4 separate regions of the Homo sapiens genome follow, and all the other regions are linked to region 4. The links are contacts of gene promoters, found by promoter capture Hi-C in blood cells and fetal thymus (Javierre and others, 2016). All regions are on one chromosome and are shown on one strand. The core of a region is centred on a gene start or on the middle of the fragment in contact, and the rest is flanking DNA. Distances in the headings are between cores, read along the strand shown. Region 1 has its middle 300 kb from the start of G2E3. Region 2 has its middle 280 kb from the start of G2E3. Region 3 has its middle 290 kb from the start of PRKD1. Region 4 holds the start of LINC01551 (long intergenic non-protein coding RNA 1551).

Region 1 (3,055 bases), core at 419-2,918, 1.5 Mb before region 4:
TAGGTCAACGCAGCTAAGTAAATTTCCTACCACTGCTCAGAGTTCACTTCCTCCTTGGTTGGCGTTGTCTATATGCCAACCTCTGCTTGGATATTTCACTTCCAGTCATTTACTTTTCTTTAGCTTTGACATTTTATCTCACCTGTGATAAGTGCTGCTATAGCGAAGGCAGAAGGAGTGCTATTAAATAAAGACTAAGAAGGAATTTGCTTCAATTGGCAGAAGACAACCAAAGAATCCACCCAAAGAAGAAAATCATGCTTCCAAATTCATAGTGGTATTCTTGTCTAGTTTATAGTTTGAGAAAGTATTCTGCCATACTTTTCCATTTTTTTCCTAGGCAAAGTTAACATAAAGACATCAAACAGTTCTGATTTATGCTAATTTTTGATCATGGTATTTGAAGAAAGGTTGGAAGATAGAAATATCTTTAAAGGGACACAATAATGGTAAACTTGAGATGCTCCATGTATCTATTATTTACATTGAAAATATTTGCTGGGAGAAAACAACAATATAAGTTAAAAAGAAGTAAATTTGTAATTGGATATAGCTTTGCTAGTAAACCTTTCCCCTCTCATCACCACTGCCTTCTCCTCCATATGAAAGGAAGATTCCATGCCAATTTATCTAAGCAATAGCACTCTTTTGTGGGGAATAACAACCTGGTTAGGAAGGAAAACTTAAGTAGGAGTATAAGACTTGGGCTTATGTCCTTACTCTGCCTCTAACCAGCACTCTGACCACCTTCTCTGGGACTCAGTTTCCTCACAGAATTAGGTGTCAGAATGGATAGTTCTGCAGTTGTCTTCTAGCTCCGAGTTTCCCTGATTCTCTGATCTCTCTCATGGTTTTCCAGAAAATCCTTCTGGTTTCATTTATTTTCACCCTGCCTGCCCCAGGTCTCTGCTGACTGGCTTTAGCAATGGAAGATGTGTAAGTCCAGCTACTAGGAAGCTAAAAGAAATGTATTAAGTGACAGCCAGTCTTTACTCATTCATTCAACAAATATTTACTGAATACGTTCTATAAACTAGGTTGTGAGAATCCAAGGATGAAAATAATTTGGATAATCCTTTATCTACATAACAGGAAATTAGAAAATAGATAGTTGGCTTAATAAATTAGCTCACTCTATTCATATTGAATTGTTTAAAAATATCCCTAGGTGTTTTATATAGGTCTCTTATTCCTGAGCTTTCCTGTCCATGCACTGCATATTCAATACTGTGAAACAGGCAAGCAGGCCTGAACTAAGGCAGAAGGAAGAAAACAAAGCTCCCTTTTATACTAGAACATTTCCTCTTGAGACAGCTGTTTTTGCTAGGAGTTGGCAAAAATACACATCTTATTTTCTTTTATTTGATTTAAGAATTCAATGTGAAAGATTGCATCACATATTGAATTTACTTTTACTCTTTCAAAAATAATACTTCTATTAATTTTAAAAGTAATACAAGTGCATGGTGAAAAATGAAAATATTACAAAAGTTCATGATAGAGAAAAAATTCAAGTGCCCAATTATCCCACTTCCCAAAGATAATTCTTATTAATATTTTGCTTTGTATTCTCTCTCTCTCTCTCCGTCCCTTCTTCCCTCCTTCCGTCCCTCCATATAGTAGTAAAATGTATTATCGTGTCTTTTCACACATATGGAATAGTATAGTTAATACTGAAATTTGACTTTTTCATAGTATATTTTGACCCTTTCCATGTAGATTCATCTCATTCTTTTTAATGACTATGTTGTATTCCACTGAATGGACCTAAGGTGATATAGTCAATTCTCCACTTAACAGATAGCTGACTTGTTTTCAGGTATTTTGCTATTATAAATAATACAGGATGATATCTGTAGTAATATTATCATCATTGCAAAGAGTAATAAATACTCACTAAGTATTTATTAATACTAAGTGCCAGGAACTTTATTATAGACTTTGTAGGCATCATTTCATTTAATTTTCAAAATAATCGGGCAGATGAGGACACTGAAATGCTATGTAACTTGTCCAAGGTCACATATCCAGAAGGTAGTGGAGCTGTGATTTCAACTCAAGTCTGTCTGATTTCAGAATTAGAGCTCGGCATTCACTCAGCAAACATTTTTGTGCACACATTTTTGTATACTTGTGTTAGTATATGTGCAGGATACATTTATAAAGATAAAATTGCTGGGTCAAAGGATGTGCAATATTTAAACTTATTCAAGTATTTTTTAATGGCCCTGAAAAATATTTTTGCCAATGATTATCCCCAATGGTAGTAAGTAAGAGTACTAGTTTCTCCGCACTCTTGCCAACACTTTGTAGCTTCATCTTTTTCCACCAATATAATAGGCAAAAAATTATCTTAGTGTTATTTCAATTTGTATTTTATAAACTTACTTTTTTAGTAATAAAATGTAATATATTTAAAGATCATTTGGTCATCAGCTTTGGAAATATGGCTCATATACCCATAATCTCTCAGTTTTAGAGAGGTTGCATGAAATTCTCAGTTGAGTTTTTCATATTCTTTATCATCTCCATCCAAACTCCTTGGTTTATTTCTATCCCCAGTGCATTTGGAATTTCTTTCTGGGATAAACACACTCAGGTACCATTCTACCAGCAAGTTCCAATTATTCAATCCAGGTCACAGTACTTGGTCAAAGTAACTGACAAAAGAAGGATGGCACTAGCCATTTAAAGCTGACTTTTTAAAAAAAATGATGGTAGTTTTGGGAAGAGAGAGAAAAAGTGACTTTTTAAAATACAACATGATATTTTTAAAAGAAAGCAGAGATCTCAAGGGAAAAACTAACAAAAATAACTTTAAAAGAATAGATGTTCAAAATCATTATGTTAAGTAGGAGTTATTAAAAATACTGCAAAAAGATCAGCTTGTACCTAGAACTTGGTTAAAGCCACAGTATATAGACAGACATTCAAAATGATGAATTTGTGCTATGGCGTTACATCGAGATGCATATAATCACTTACAGCCACTTGTAATTTCTAGAAATGAACACATATTGCCTAAGATTTTTCTAATTGAGCCATATTCTGGAAG
Region 2 (2,729 bases), core at 167-2,666, 1.5 Mb before region 4:
ATGGACATACATCATCTCAACTATTGCCTTCATGTCATTACTTGGATTGCAAAAGTAGCCTCAGCCAGAAATAACTATCTTCAGTGCTTGCCTTGTAAATCTAGCCTATTCAGTGGGCACAAAGTCACAGTGGGTCTCCTTCTAACACTTAGTATTCTGCTTTAAATGATTTTAAAAATGAAATGGAGAATTTGGGTTACATATAATTTTTATACATAAACAAGTTGAAAGCATTGGGACCTTATCTTGAGACAAATCAGAATAGCTACTTAAGTTTGAGCAGGCAGATTTCTCTAGGAGTTACTCTGGCAATGATTACTGCCTAATGGGGGCAGCAGAGAGCTAAAGCCCAGGAAGCTTGAGAAATGCTTCTTCAAGGAAAGGTGCCTAACTAGTCAAGAGGTAGGGCCCAGTGAGAGAGGAACCAGAGTCTGGGGATAGATGTTACCGAAAAAGTCCAAACCAAGCTGGGCTGGATCCTAGAAATCAAGAAAAAGGAAGGAAGTTGGACATAAGTAGAAGTGAAAACTCTTGTCAAATCTGGAGGCCAGATGAGCCCTTTTGTGGCAGTGGCTAAAGACTTCCTGGTTGACGCCGCTCAACCTTAAAGGGCTTCGGGCTCTGACACAGACTTTTCAGCTAAAGCCATGTTCCTGAGTTTTAAGAGCCCGGCACTGTGTTGGGCCCAAAGAGAAATAAGATTTAGCTTCCATTATTGAGGGGCTTATAGGTTTTCATTATTGTTGAATACAAAAAGAAAATAGGCTGGGTGTGGTGGCTCACGCCTGTAATCCCAGCACTTTGGGAGGCCGAGGCGGGCGGATCACCAGGTCAGGAGATCAAGACCATCCTGGCTAACACGGTGAAACCCCGTCTCCAGTAAAAATACAAAAAATCAGCCAGGCGTGGTGGTGTGTGCCTGTAGTCCCAGCTACTCGGGAGGCTGAGGCAGGAGAATCACTTGAACCCGGGAGGCGGGGCTTGCAGTGAGCGGAGATCATGCCACTGCACTTCAGCCTGGGCGACAGAGCAAGATTCTGTCTCAAAATAAATAAATAAATAAATAAATAAATAAATAAATAAATAAATAAATGGAATGGAGTAGAAACATACTCTAGTAATGACGCATGACTTCACTGATTCATTTATTCATGTAACACTAGGAAAGCAATGGCACTCTAGTGGGTAGATCGACATTAATAATTATTAACAAAGAAATGTGATATTAGATACTTAATACTGTGAAGGAAAAGTATGCAGCTTTGTGAACATATGTCAGAGAAATTGGATCTAGGCTGAAAATCAGGGAAGGCTTCTCAGAAAATGATGTTGGTATTTCTTAAGTTATGCAAATATGCAAAATGGATCTACATTTATTGAATCATCATTGCTCTGCTATTCATTGCACTATAAGACAGTAGTATGTCATGCATACAGTGAATGCAAAGGAGTTCACATCAAAGGCACCTAATTAGTCCTGAGAATAATGTTTTCCATTAATATAATATTGTTTAAATAATTCCATTAAGCGAAAAGTTTTTCTGATGATAGACATAATTAAATGTTGGAAACCAAGTAATCTATTTAATTTCAAAGGAAAAAATTGTACTCGTTTTTTAAAAAGTTAAAAAATATCATTTAACAGAGAATTCAAAAATAATATTTGAAATAGGCATTATCATAAATCAGACAGCTACTTGAATTAGTCTTCAGAAAAATTTTACATCAGCTTAAAAATCTTACTTTCGTAGACTCTGAAAATTATGAATTTTGTCATTGTAAAGGATTTTATAAGTCATGCTTTTTAGCTCCCTCAATTAACAAATGATGAAAACTGAAGGGCAGAGATTTAAACTGACATATTTGTAGCAACCATACAAGTTTAAAAATATTTAAGAAAAAATTAACTTGTGAATAATTTCAAAATATTTTTTCTGATTTAGGTTAAAATCTTCACTTAAAAATATGTAGAAGGCCGGGTGCCAGTGGCTCACACCTGTAATCCCAGCACTTTGGGAGGCCAAGGTGGGTAGATCACGAGGTCAAGAGATCAAGACCATCCTGGCCAACATGGTGAAACCCTGTCTCTACTAAAAATACAAGAATTAGCTGGGCATGGTGGTGCGTGCCTGTAATTCCAGCAAATCGGGAGGCTGAGGCAGGAGAATCGCTTGAACCTGGGAGGCAGGGGTTGCAGTGAGCCGAGAACACGCCATTGCACTCCAGCCCAAGTGACAGTGTGAGACTCTGTCTTAAATTAAAAAAAAATGTAGAAAATCTTTAAATGTTGAGTCTGAATTCTAGTTTTTAATGAAAAGTAAGCAGCCTTGGTTTTAGTGGAAATCTTCTTTTGTCTAGATTGAAAATTTAAAAAATATTTCTATATTAATAATACAGAATCATCAATTATACACATAAAGGGTGGGAAGGAGTTGATTTCTTCAACAATATTATGAACACATGAGAAAAGCTTTAAAAAGTTTAGTAGGGATAAATAATAATTCTTTATATTTGCCTAAGTTGTTGCATTTTCCAAAGTACTTTTTATATTTACTCACATGGTTCTCACAGAGAGGTAGAAGAAACTAGTGCTAGTATCTTCAGTTTGCAGAAGAGTGACATTCAGAATAGGTCTAAGGGTTAAGAGGACAACCAGGACAATATTATGAAACTCATTCCAGTATACTTCTGTCTGTGATCCAAGGTAAAGTGTTGCCGTTATATCTCTA
Region 3 (2,747 bases), core at 54-2,553, 1.4 Mb before region 4:
AAGGCAATGAGGATTTAACCTCATCGTAAACTGGTTGCTGAAGTGGAAATAAAGATGCATATTTGAATGAAATAAAGAAGAAGGAATTTGCAAGTCTTGGGGAAAGATTAAATATCAGGAGTTAAAGAAGGATAACTCCAAAACGAATCTAAGATACTCAGCTTAGCTGAAGATTGGCCATGGTGTTGCCATTGATAGTAATGGACAAACTTGGGAAGTATGCCATTTTGAGGGTGAGAATCATGAATCCAAAGTTTACTATTATAGTGTTGATGGGACAACCAAGAAGAACTATTCTGCTATGCGGATAAATGATGGTATGGGCTTGGAAAGAGTTTGAAAAATCACAGTAGAAATGGAAGATTTAAGACCTTTGTGGAAGTGGAATTATGTGATCAAATTATCATGATCACCATCACTGTCATCATGAAGCATTGTGTGAAGATACAGTGGGAGTGAGTAAATGTGTTTGTAAAGTCACAGACATAGATATGGACAAAATCCAAGTTTAGATATAGTCCTCAATAAGGGAAGAGAAGAAATCAGTAAAACCATTGGAAACAATGAGGTATTTGATAAATAGAATTGGCGAATAGAATAGAGAGTGCTTCAAGAAAGGGTTGTAATCAGGGTGTCATGACGAAGCAATGAATTCAAGAAGGGGGAATGGAATCTGATCATCTAGAGAGGCTAACTTCCTTTTGAGAAAGTCATGAGTTTACAGGCATGGTTAAGTAGGGAGTGGCTGCAGAAGTAGAGACTATAATAAAATAAAGTTTAGAAAGGACAGAATCGAAATCAGAGGAACTCAGAGGTCATCTATGATAACCTCCTCTCCATTTCAGGAGTCACGTTCAGGAGCTGCAGCCCTAACAGATACTCACTCTGTCTTGTTGGAAGGACACCGTCTAATTTGTTAGGCGGTTGATTCTATATTGGGAGATTAGCATATTGGGTTAGTGAATTCTCCATTTCATTGAGATAAAAATACAAAAAGATACAACCACGGAAGGAAGAAATTTGCTGGTAGCAGGAAAGTGTGGAGGGTTCAAGTAAAGTTCTTATATTTATTTTAACTAGAAGAGAGGTTTGTGTATAGTTAAAGGAAAAGAAAAAGAAGCATGAAAGAGGAAAGGGTTAAAGAGTAGCAAGGAGGCGGATGGTGAAGCTTCTTTGAGGCCAGAGGCAGGAAGTGATCAGAGACGCAGATGGAAAGGTTATTTTCATTTGATTTATCCACCCACTAACCGGTGTCTGATATAGTGCTTTTAGCATAGCGTGTGTGCAACACAGAGATGTGCTGATTGATTAATTGAGGAGAAGAAAGGTACTTTTGAGATCCAAGAAAAGATAAAGGGGGGGATTCAGAAAAGGATCTGGGATCTAACGAGTGACACAAATCCCGTGAGCTGAGGAGCAAGACAAATTCAGAAGCTTCACTTTTGGCCACTATAAGGAAAATGGCTGCTGTTTTAGTCAATTTTAAAGATAATGATTTTTTTAAGCCATCTGACTCCTTTGTGCCTTCTATCAGAATTGAAGTAATAGGCAAGTCATTCAGATAAAACTGTCCCTCCTGGAGGAAGAGACATGCCAAGAGAACCTTGGCCAGATGGGAGCTGTAGAAAGGGGCTCAGAGGGGCATTTTGCTTGCCCAGTCAGTTTGGATTTAAACCAGGTGCCTCCAGGGTAGGCCAGAGCTTTGCCAGTCAAGAGCAGGGGTGTAAGCTGCCATTGTGTGAAAACAAGTTAAGTTGCTTGGTTCCAGGGAATGTGGTCCAAGTGTCATAAATGCATCTGTTTAATAATGCATATCAGTAGCTCTTCCAGAATTTGGGTGCCTTGAGCTGCCTTTGTTTCCTCATTTCCAGAAAAATGAACAAGTCCGTGTCTTGACAAAAGCACTAGATGGCAGCATAGGACATCTATTCAACTGTCTCTCTCCACAGGCTGCTGGAATTTTGACAGATACAAAACGGTACCTGTGGTTTTGTGTATAAAACTGGTATAACTGTTTGTACATTTAAAAAATGTAACAATAAATTAAACATAAGGGAAAAGGGTTGCTAATAAATACAGTGTTAGACTGCATTTTTGTATACCAGGTGACAAGCCTGGGCATTCAAACCTGATTTGTGTAGGGGATGGGCAGGATGGGAAGCGAGTTGAAAGAGTTGCAAAATGTACACGCTGGGTGGTTATAGCTTCCTTGAGGGTTGTTGTTGATTTACCCATATGTCTGTGTGCATTCCATAGAGGTGAAAATTTAGGGAAGTGAGGGGTACGATATGTCTGAAAGTCTGGATACAAGGGACTTTGGAAGAAAGCAGCATTCTGTGATTCTCTGACTCACTGTTTTGATGGGTGGAAGGTGAAAGTGTGAGCTCATTATATGTGCTTTTCTTAAAGAGGCAAATAATGCCTCCCCATTTTCTTACTCATCATTTAGAAAGTGGGCCTATGAAGCCTGCACACATTGTAGCCTATAGGACTAGGCTCAGTATATACTATCATCTTTTCTCTTTAGTCTGGATTGATTCACTTCCTTGGTTAGAGCAACTGCTACCTGAGACACTAAGGGCATAGGTTTGATTCCAGTCAGAGTCAGTTGGTATGCTACAGAAAAGAAGAAAACAAACAAAAAAAAAAATCCCAGGATCGCACACGGAAAATCCACTTAACCAGCTCTACAAAGATTCTTCACCACTTCTAGAAAAGTAATTCAAAGCACACATCCTGTCAATATA
Region 4 (2,964 bases), core at 320-2,819:
GGCCGAGCCAACCTGTGTCTGGCGCGTGCTCTCAGCCACTCTGGGACAGAGAGGCTCTCGAGCGTACTACCGACGTCTCCTAAGTGTGCATTAAGAATCAATTATTTGCCTGAGATTTCCAAAGCCAGGAACTGGGATATTCCCAGCAGGGACAAAGTCAAGCCCAGAACGGTGTTCATTTCCCTAGTCTTTCGAAGAGACAGAAGAGAAGACTCCCACACGCACCCAGTGCCTCACCCGACCCGGAGCAGCCCGGCTAAATCCGACCGGGACCCTGGTGTGACCCAGGCCAAGGAGCTGGGGGCGGAGGGCCAGCTCTGGGGAAGGTTGGCTATGTTAGTGTGCAAATAGAGAAGGGCGATCCAAAGAAGAACTTTAGAGAGAAGCAGGTTCTTGGCTCTGGAGCAAAGAGCTTTAACTGAAATAAGGATAGCTAATAAACCTGTCTTTGAGCGTTAAGAACGTCCCGGAAGTTCCTGTAGCAACCATAAGACTCAGAAATCATATTTCCACGAAATGAATTAATTTACACTTTAGGACCTATTTCAGTCTCCCACTACCCCTTCTCCGTATAATTTTTTCTCGTTTTCTCTCCATGTTCCTTTGCCGTGTCTACATCCTTTTGACCTGGGGATTCACCGTGATTTCTGTCAACGTGGAAAAAAATTATGCATCCTTTCAGCTACGTCTGTTGGTAGCGAGCCTGCTAACATTTTCTAAGAAAAGATGAACACTTAAGGCCAGGACCCCAAAGTCAGGCGTTAAAACTCAGTCCAAAGCAGTCAGTTACACATATTCCCTACCCTACCCCTTCCCCTCTGAAAAGCACTTTCACTTACGGATCTTGCTGTAAGAGCCATTCCAGTCCTGATATCCTTTTCCTCGGCATCCTTCGGACAACCTCAGGCAGAGCCTTAGGTGGTGGGGAAAAACAAAAACAAAACACAGTAGAAATCGGGAGGGAGACAAGAGGCACAAAACATAACAATACATCATCTATTTGCCAGCCTGGAGCCCCCTTGGCCTACATCCTCAGGATAAGGTCCCTAGAACTGACCGCTAGGGTGGGGAATGGGTGCCTTTGGGAGCCAAAATCTGAGGTGGGTTATTTTAACTGCTAGTGATTGAGGGGAAAGGGCCCTGAAGGGAGAATAGAAAAGGGGAATGATTGGTATAGAGAAAAGAAATCTTAAAAAAAAAAAAAAAATGCACGCAAAAGAAAATCTAGCATGAAGTACTAACTGGGAAAGATCTCTAGCACCTTTTAACTCTTACAGGTAGGTAGCTCTTAGGAAGAATGCAGACGTGTGTGCCCAAAAGAGAGAATCTAGATGACCTCTATTCTTTCCATATCTCCAGGATCTGGACTTAAGTAGAAAAATAAAGAGGGGAGAATTTTAATTCAAGTTTCACCTACCCTGCTTGTTGGAATGGCTGCGCAGATTTTCATGCTGGAGAGTTCCATCTGTCTGGCAGAAGCTGAAGTGGTGTTGGGGGCAGGTTATCTGGTGAAGTAGGAATGTACAGGAACCCCGCCCTCTAGGCACAGTTACACAACCCCAGCAACCCATCTCAGCCAGTTCTAAAACCTCTAATGATCTTCACCTTCACCCTTTGTTAGTCTAATTCTCCAACAGGCTTTTAGTCTCAAACACAACCAACCACTTTAGCTGTTCATAAAATTAATTTCTCAAAACCAAAATTTTCCCAGTGCATGCAAATTCCTCAACAATGTTGTAGAAAATACACTTTTTAAAAAACTACACTTCTATAGACTTCTAAATATATTGAATTTATCCACGTATTTGGGTGAAATATGCACCAACTTAAATATATATTAAAATCAATACACTATGAGACTAAATTTTTGCCTCTCTGCCTTTGATTTTATGCAAGTCACATAAACTACATGAAGGCTTCCATGACCATAAGGATATTTGTATTAAACCTTGTTAGTTCTAGACTTCATGTTCACTTGGTTCCCAATTTTGTAACAGGCTGAAGAAACATATTTGAAATAATACTTTAACTCCTCTAGTTCAATTACATCATTTTCTCAGTGTTTTACATATTAATATTTTTTGTTAACTTTACAACAGACAAATTCAAGTAAAATACTTTAAACCTGGAAATAAACTTTAATTTGGGATTTCAAGTTTTAAGTTGTGATCAGTTTCAGTTCCAAAATTTCACAAAGGACAACCTTCATCTTATTAAAAACAATTATAATATGAAAGAAAATAATCCTCAAAAGTTTTGAAGTGTATTTCTGACATAAACTAATTTTAACGGTCAAAGTTGGAGACAACAAATAACACAACATTACAACCCGTTCGATGCAAAAATGTATTATATGCCATGCCAGACTGTCATGTGTTTTTTGAGAAGATAAGTTGAGGGATGATAAGATAGATCAAGGGAAATGAGATGTTCATATTGGGCTTCAGGAAGCCTTTACAAAGTTCTCTCTCCATATATCCACCTTCGTGTCTAGTACACCTAACAAACTTCTAGTCATATCCATTATATGTAATTTGGACATGGGTCCAAGCAGAACTCCCACTCCAATACTTCGTTTCTATGAATTCAAAGAAATCAGTTTTACTCTTGACTTCAAAGTATGATGTTTGCCATTAAAATTCTATTTATCTGTCACCCAAATAAACACTTATAAATACAAATAAGTATACTTATTTAATGTGGCCAAAAAAAATACTCATGCAGGAAAACTTTCTTCTATATCTATACCCCTTTACCTTAGCACAAGAGTTCAACTTTCTTTTTAACGTTTGGTAAGCAAAATTCTATGTTTCCCCTGTGATAATACATTCTTATTCCACAAATAAAATCCATGGCAAAAGCAAACAATAAATCATCACCTTTTTTTCAGCTTGGACACATGTCTCTCTTTGAGCTATTTTGGTTCAAAATGTGTAATGGGGATTTCCTTTGCATAAAACCATT

The links. Contacts are between HindIII fragments. The CHiCAGO score rates a contact against its expected background, and 5 or more counts as called.
Region 1: a fragment that was not itself captured here is called in contact with the fragment with the promoter of LINC01551 in region 4 in 1 of 17 cell types (M2 macrophages); the score reaches 5.9 in M2 macrophages.
Region 2: a fragment that was not itself captured here is called in contact with the fragment with the promoter of LINC01551 in region 4 in 2 of 17 cell types (M2 macrophages and endothelial precursors); the score reaches 8.4 in M2 macrophages.
Region 3: a fragment that was not itself captured here is called in contact with the fragment with the promoter of LINC01551 in region 4 in 3 of 17 cell types (M2 macrophages, endothelial precursors and M0 macrophages); the score reaches 12.8 in M2 macrophages.

What each region holds. Positions count from the first base shown.
Region 1 is chr14:30,262,569-30,265,623 of GRCh38, reverse strand. No RefSeq gene overlaps it. Among named protein-coding and RNA genes, the nearest start is that of G2E3, 300 kb to the left of the region's middle. The HindIII fragment of the contact is 3,914 bases long and covers 1-3,055 here.
Region 2 is chr14:30,281,629-30,284,357 of GRCh38, reverse strand. No RefSeq gene overlaps it. Among named protein-coding and RNA genes, the nearest start is that of G2E3, 280 kb to the left of the region's middle. The HindIII fragment of the contact is 2,113 bases long and covers 360-2,472 here.
Region 3 is chr14:30,213,820-30,216,566 of GRCh38, reverse strand. No RefSeq gene overlaps it. Among named protein-coding and RNA genes, the nearest start is that of PRKD1, 290 kb to the right of the region's middle. The HindIII fragment of the contact is 266 bases long and covers 1,171-1,436 here.
Region 4 is chr14:28,771,309-28,774,272 of GRCh38, reverse strand. It overlaps LINC01551 (long intergenic non-protein coding RNA 1551), which reads right to left and starts at 1,569. Exons shown (of 3, transcript NR_026731.1): 1 at 1,418-1,569; 2 at 840-913. The HindIII fragment of the contact is 5,790 bases long and covers 1-2,964 here.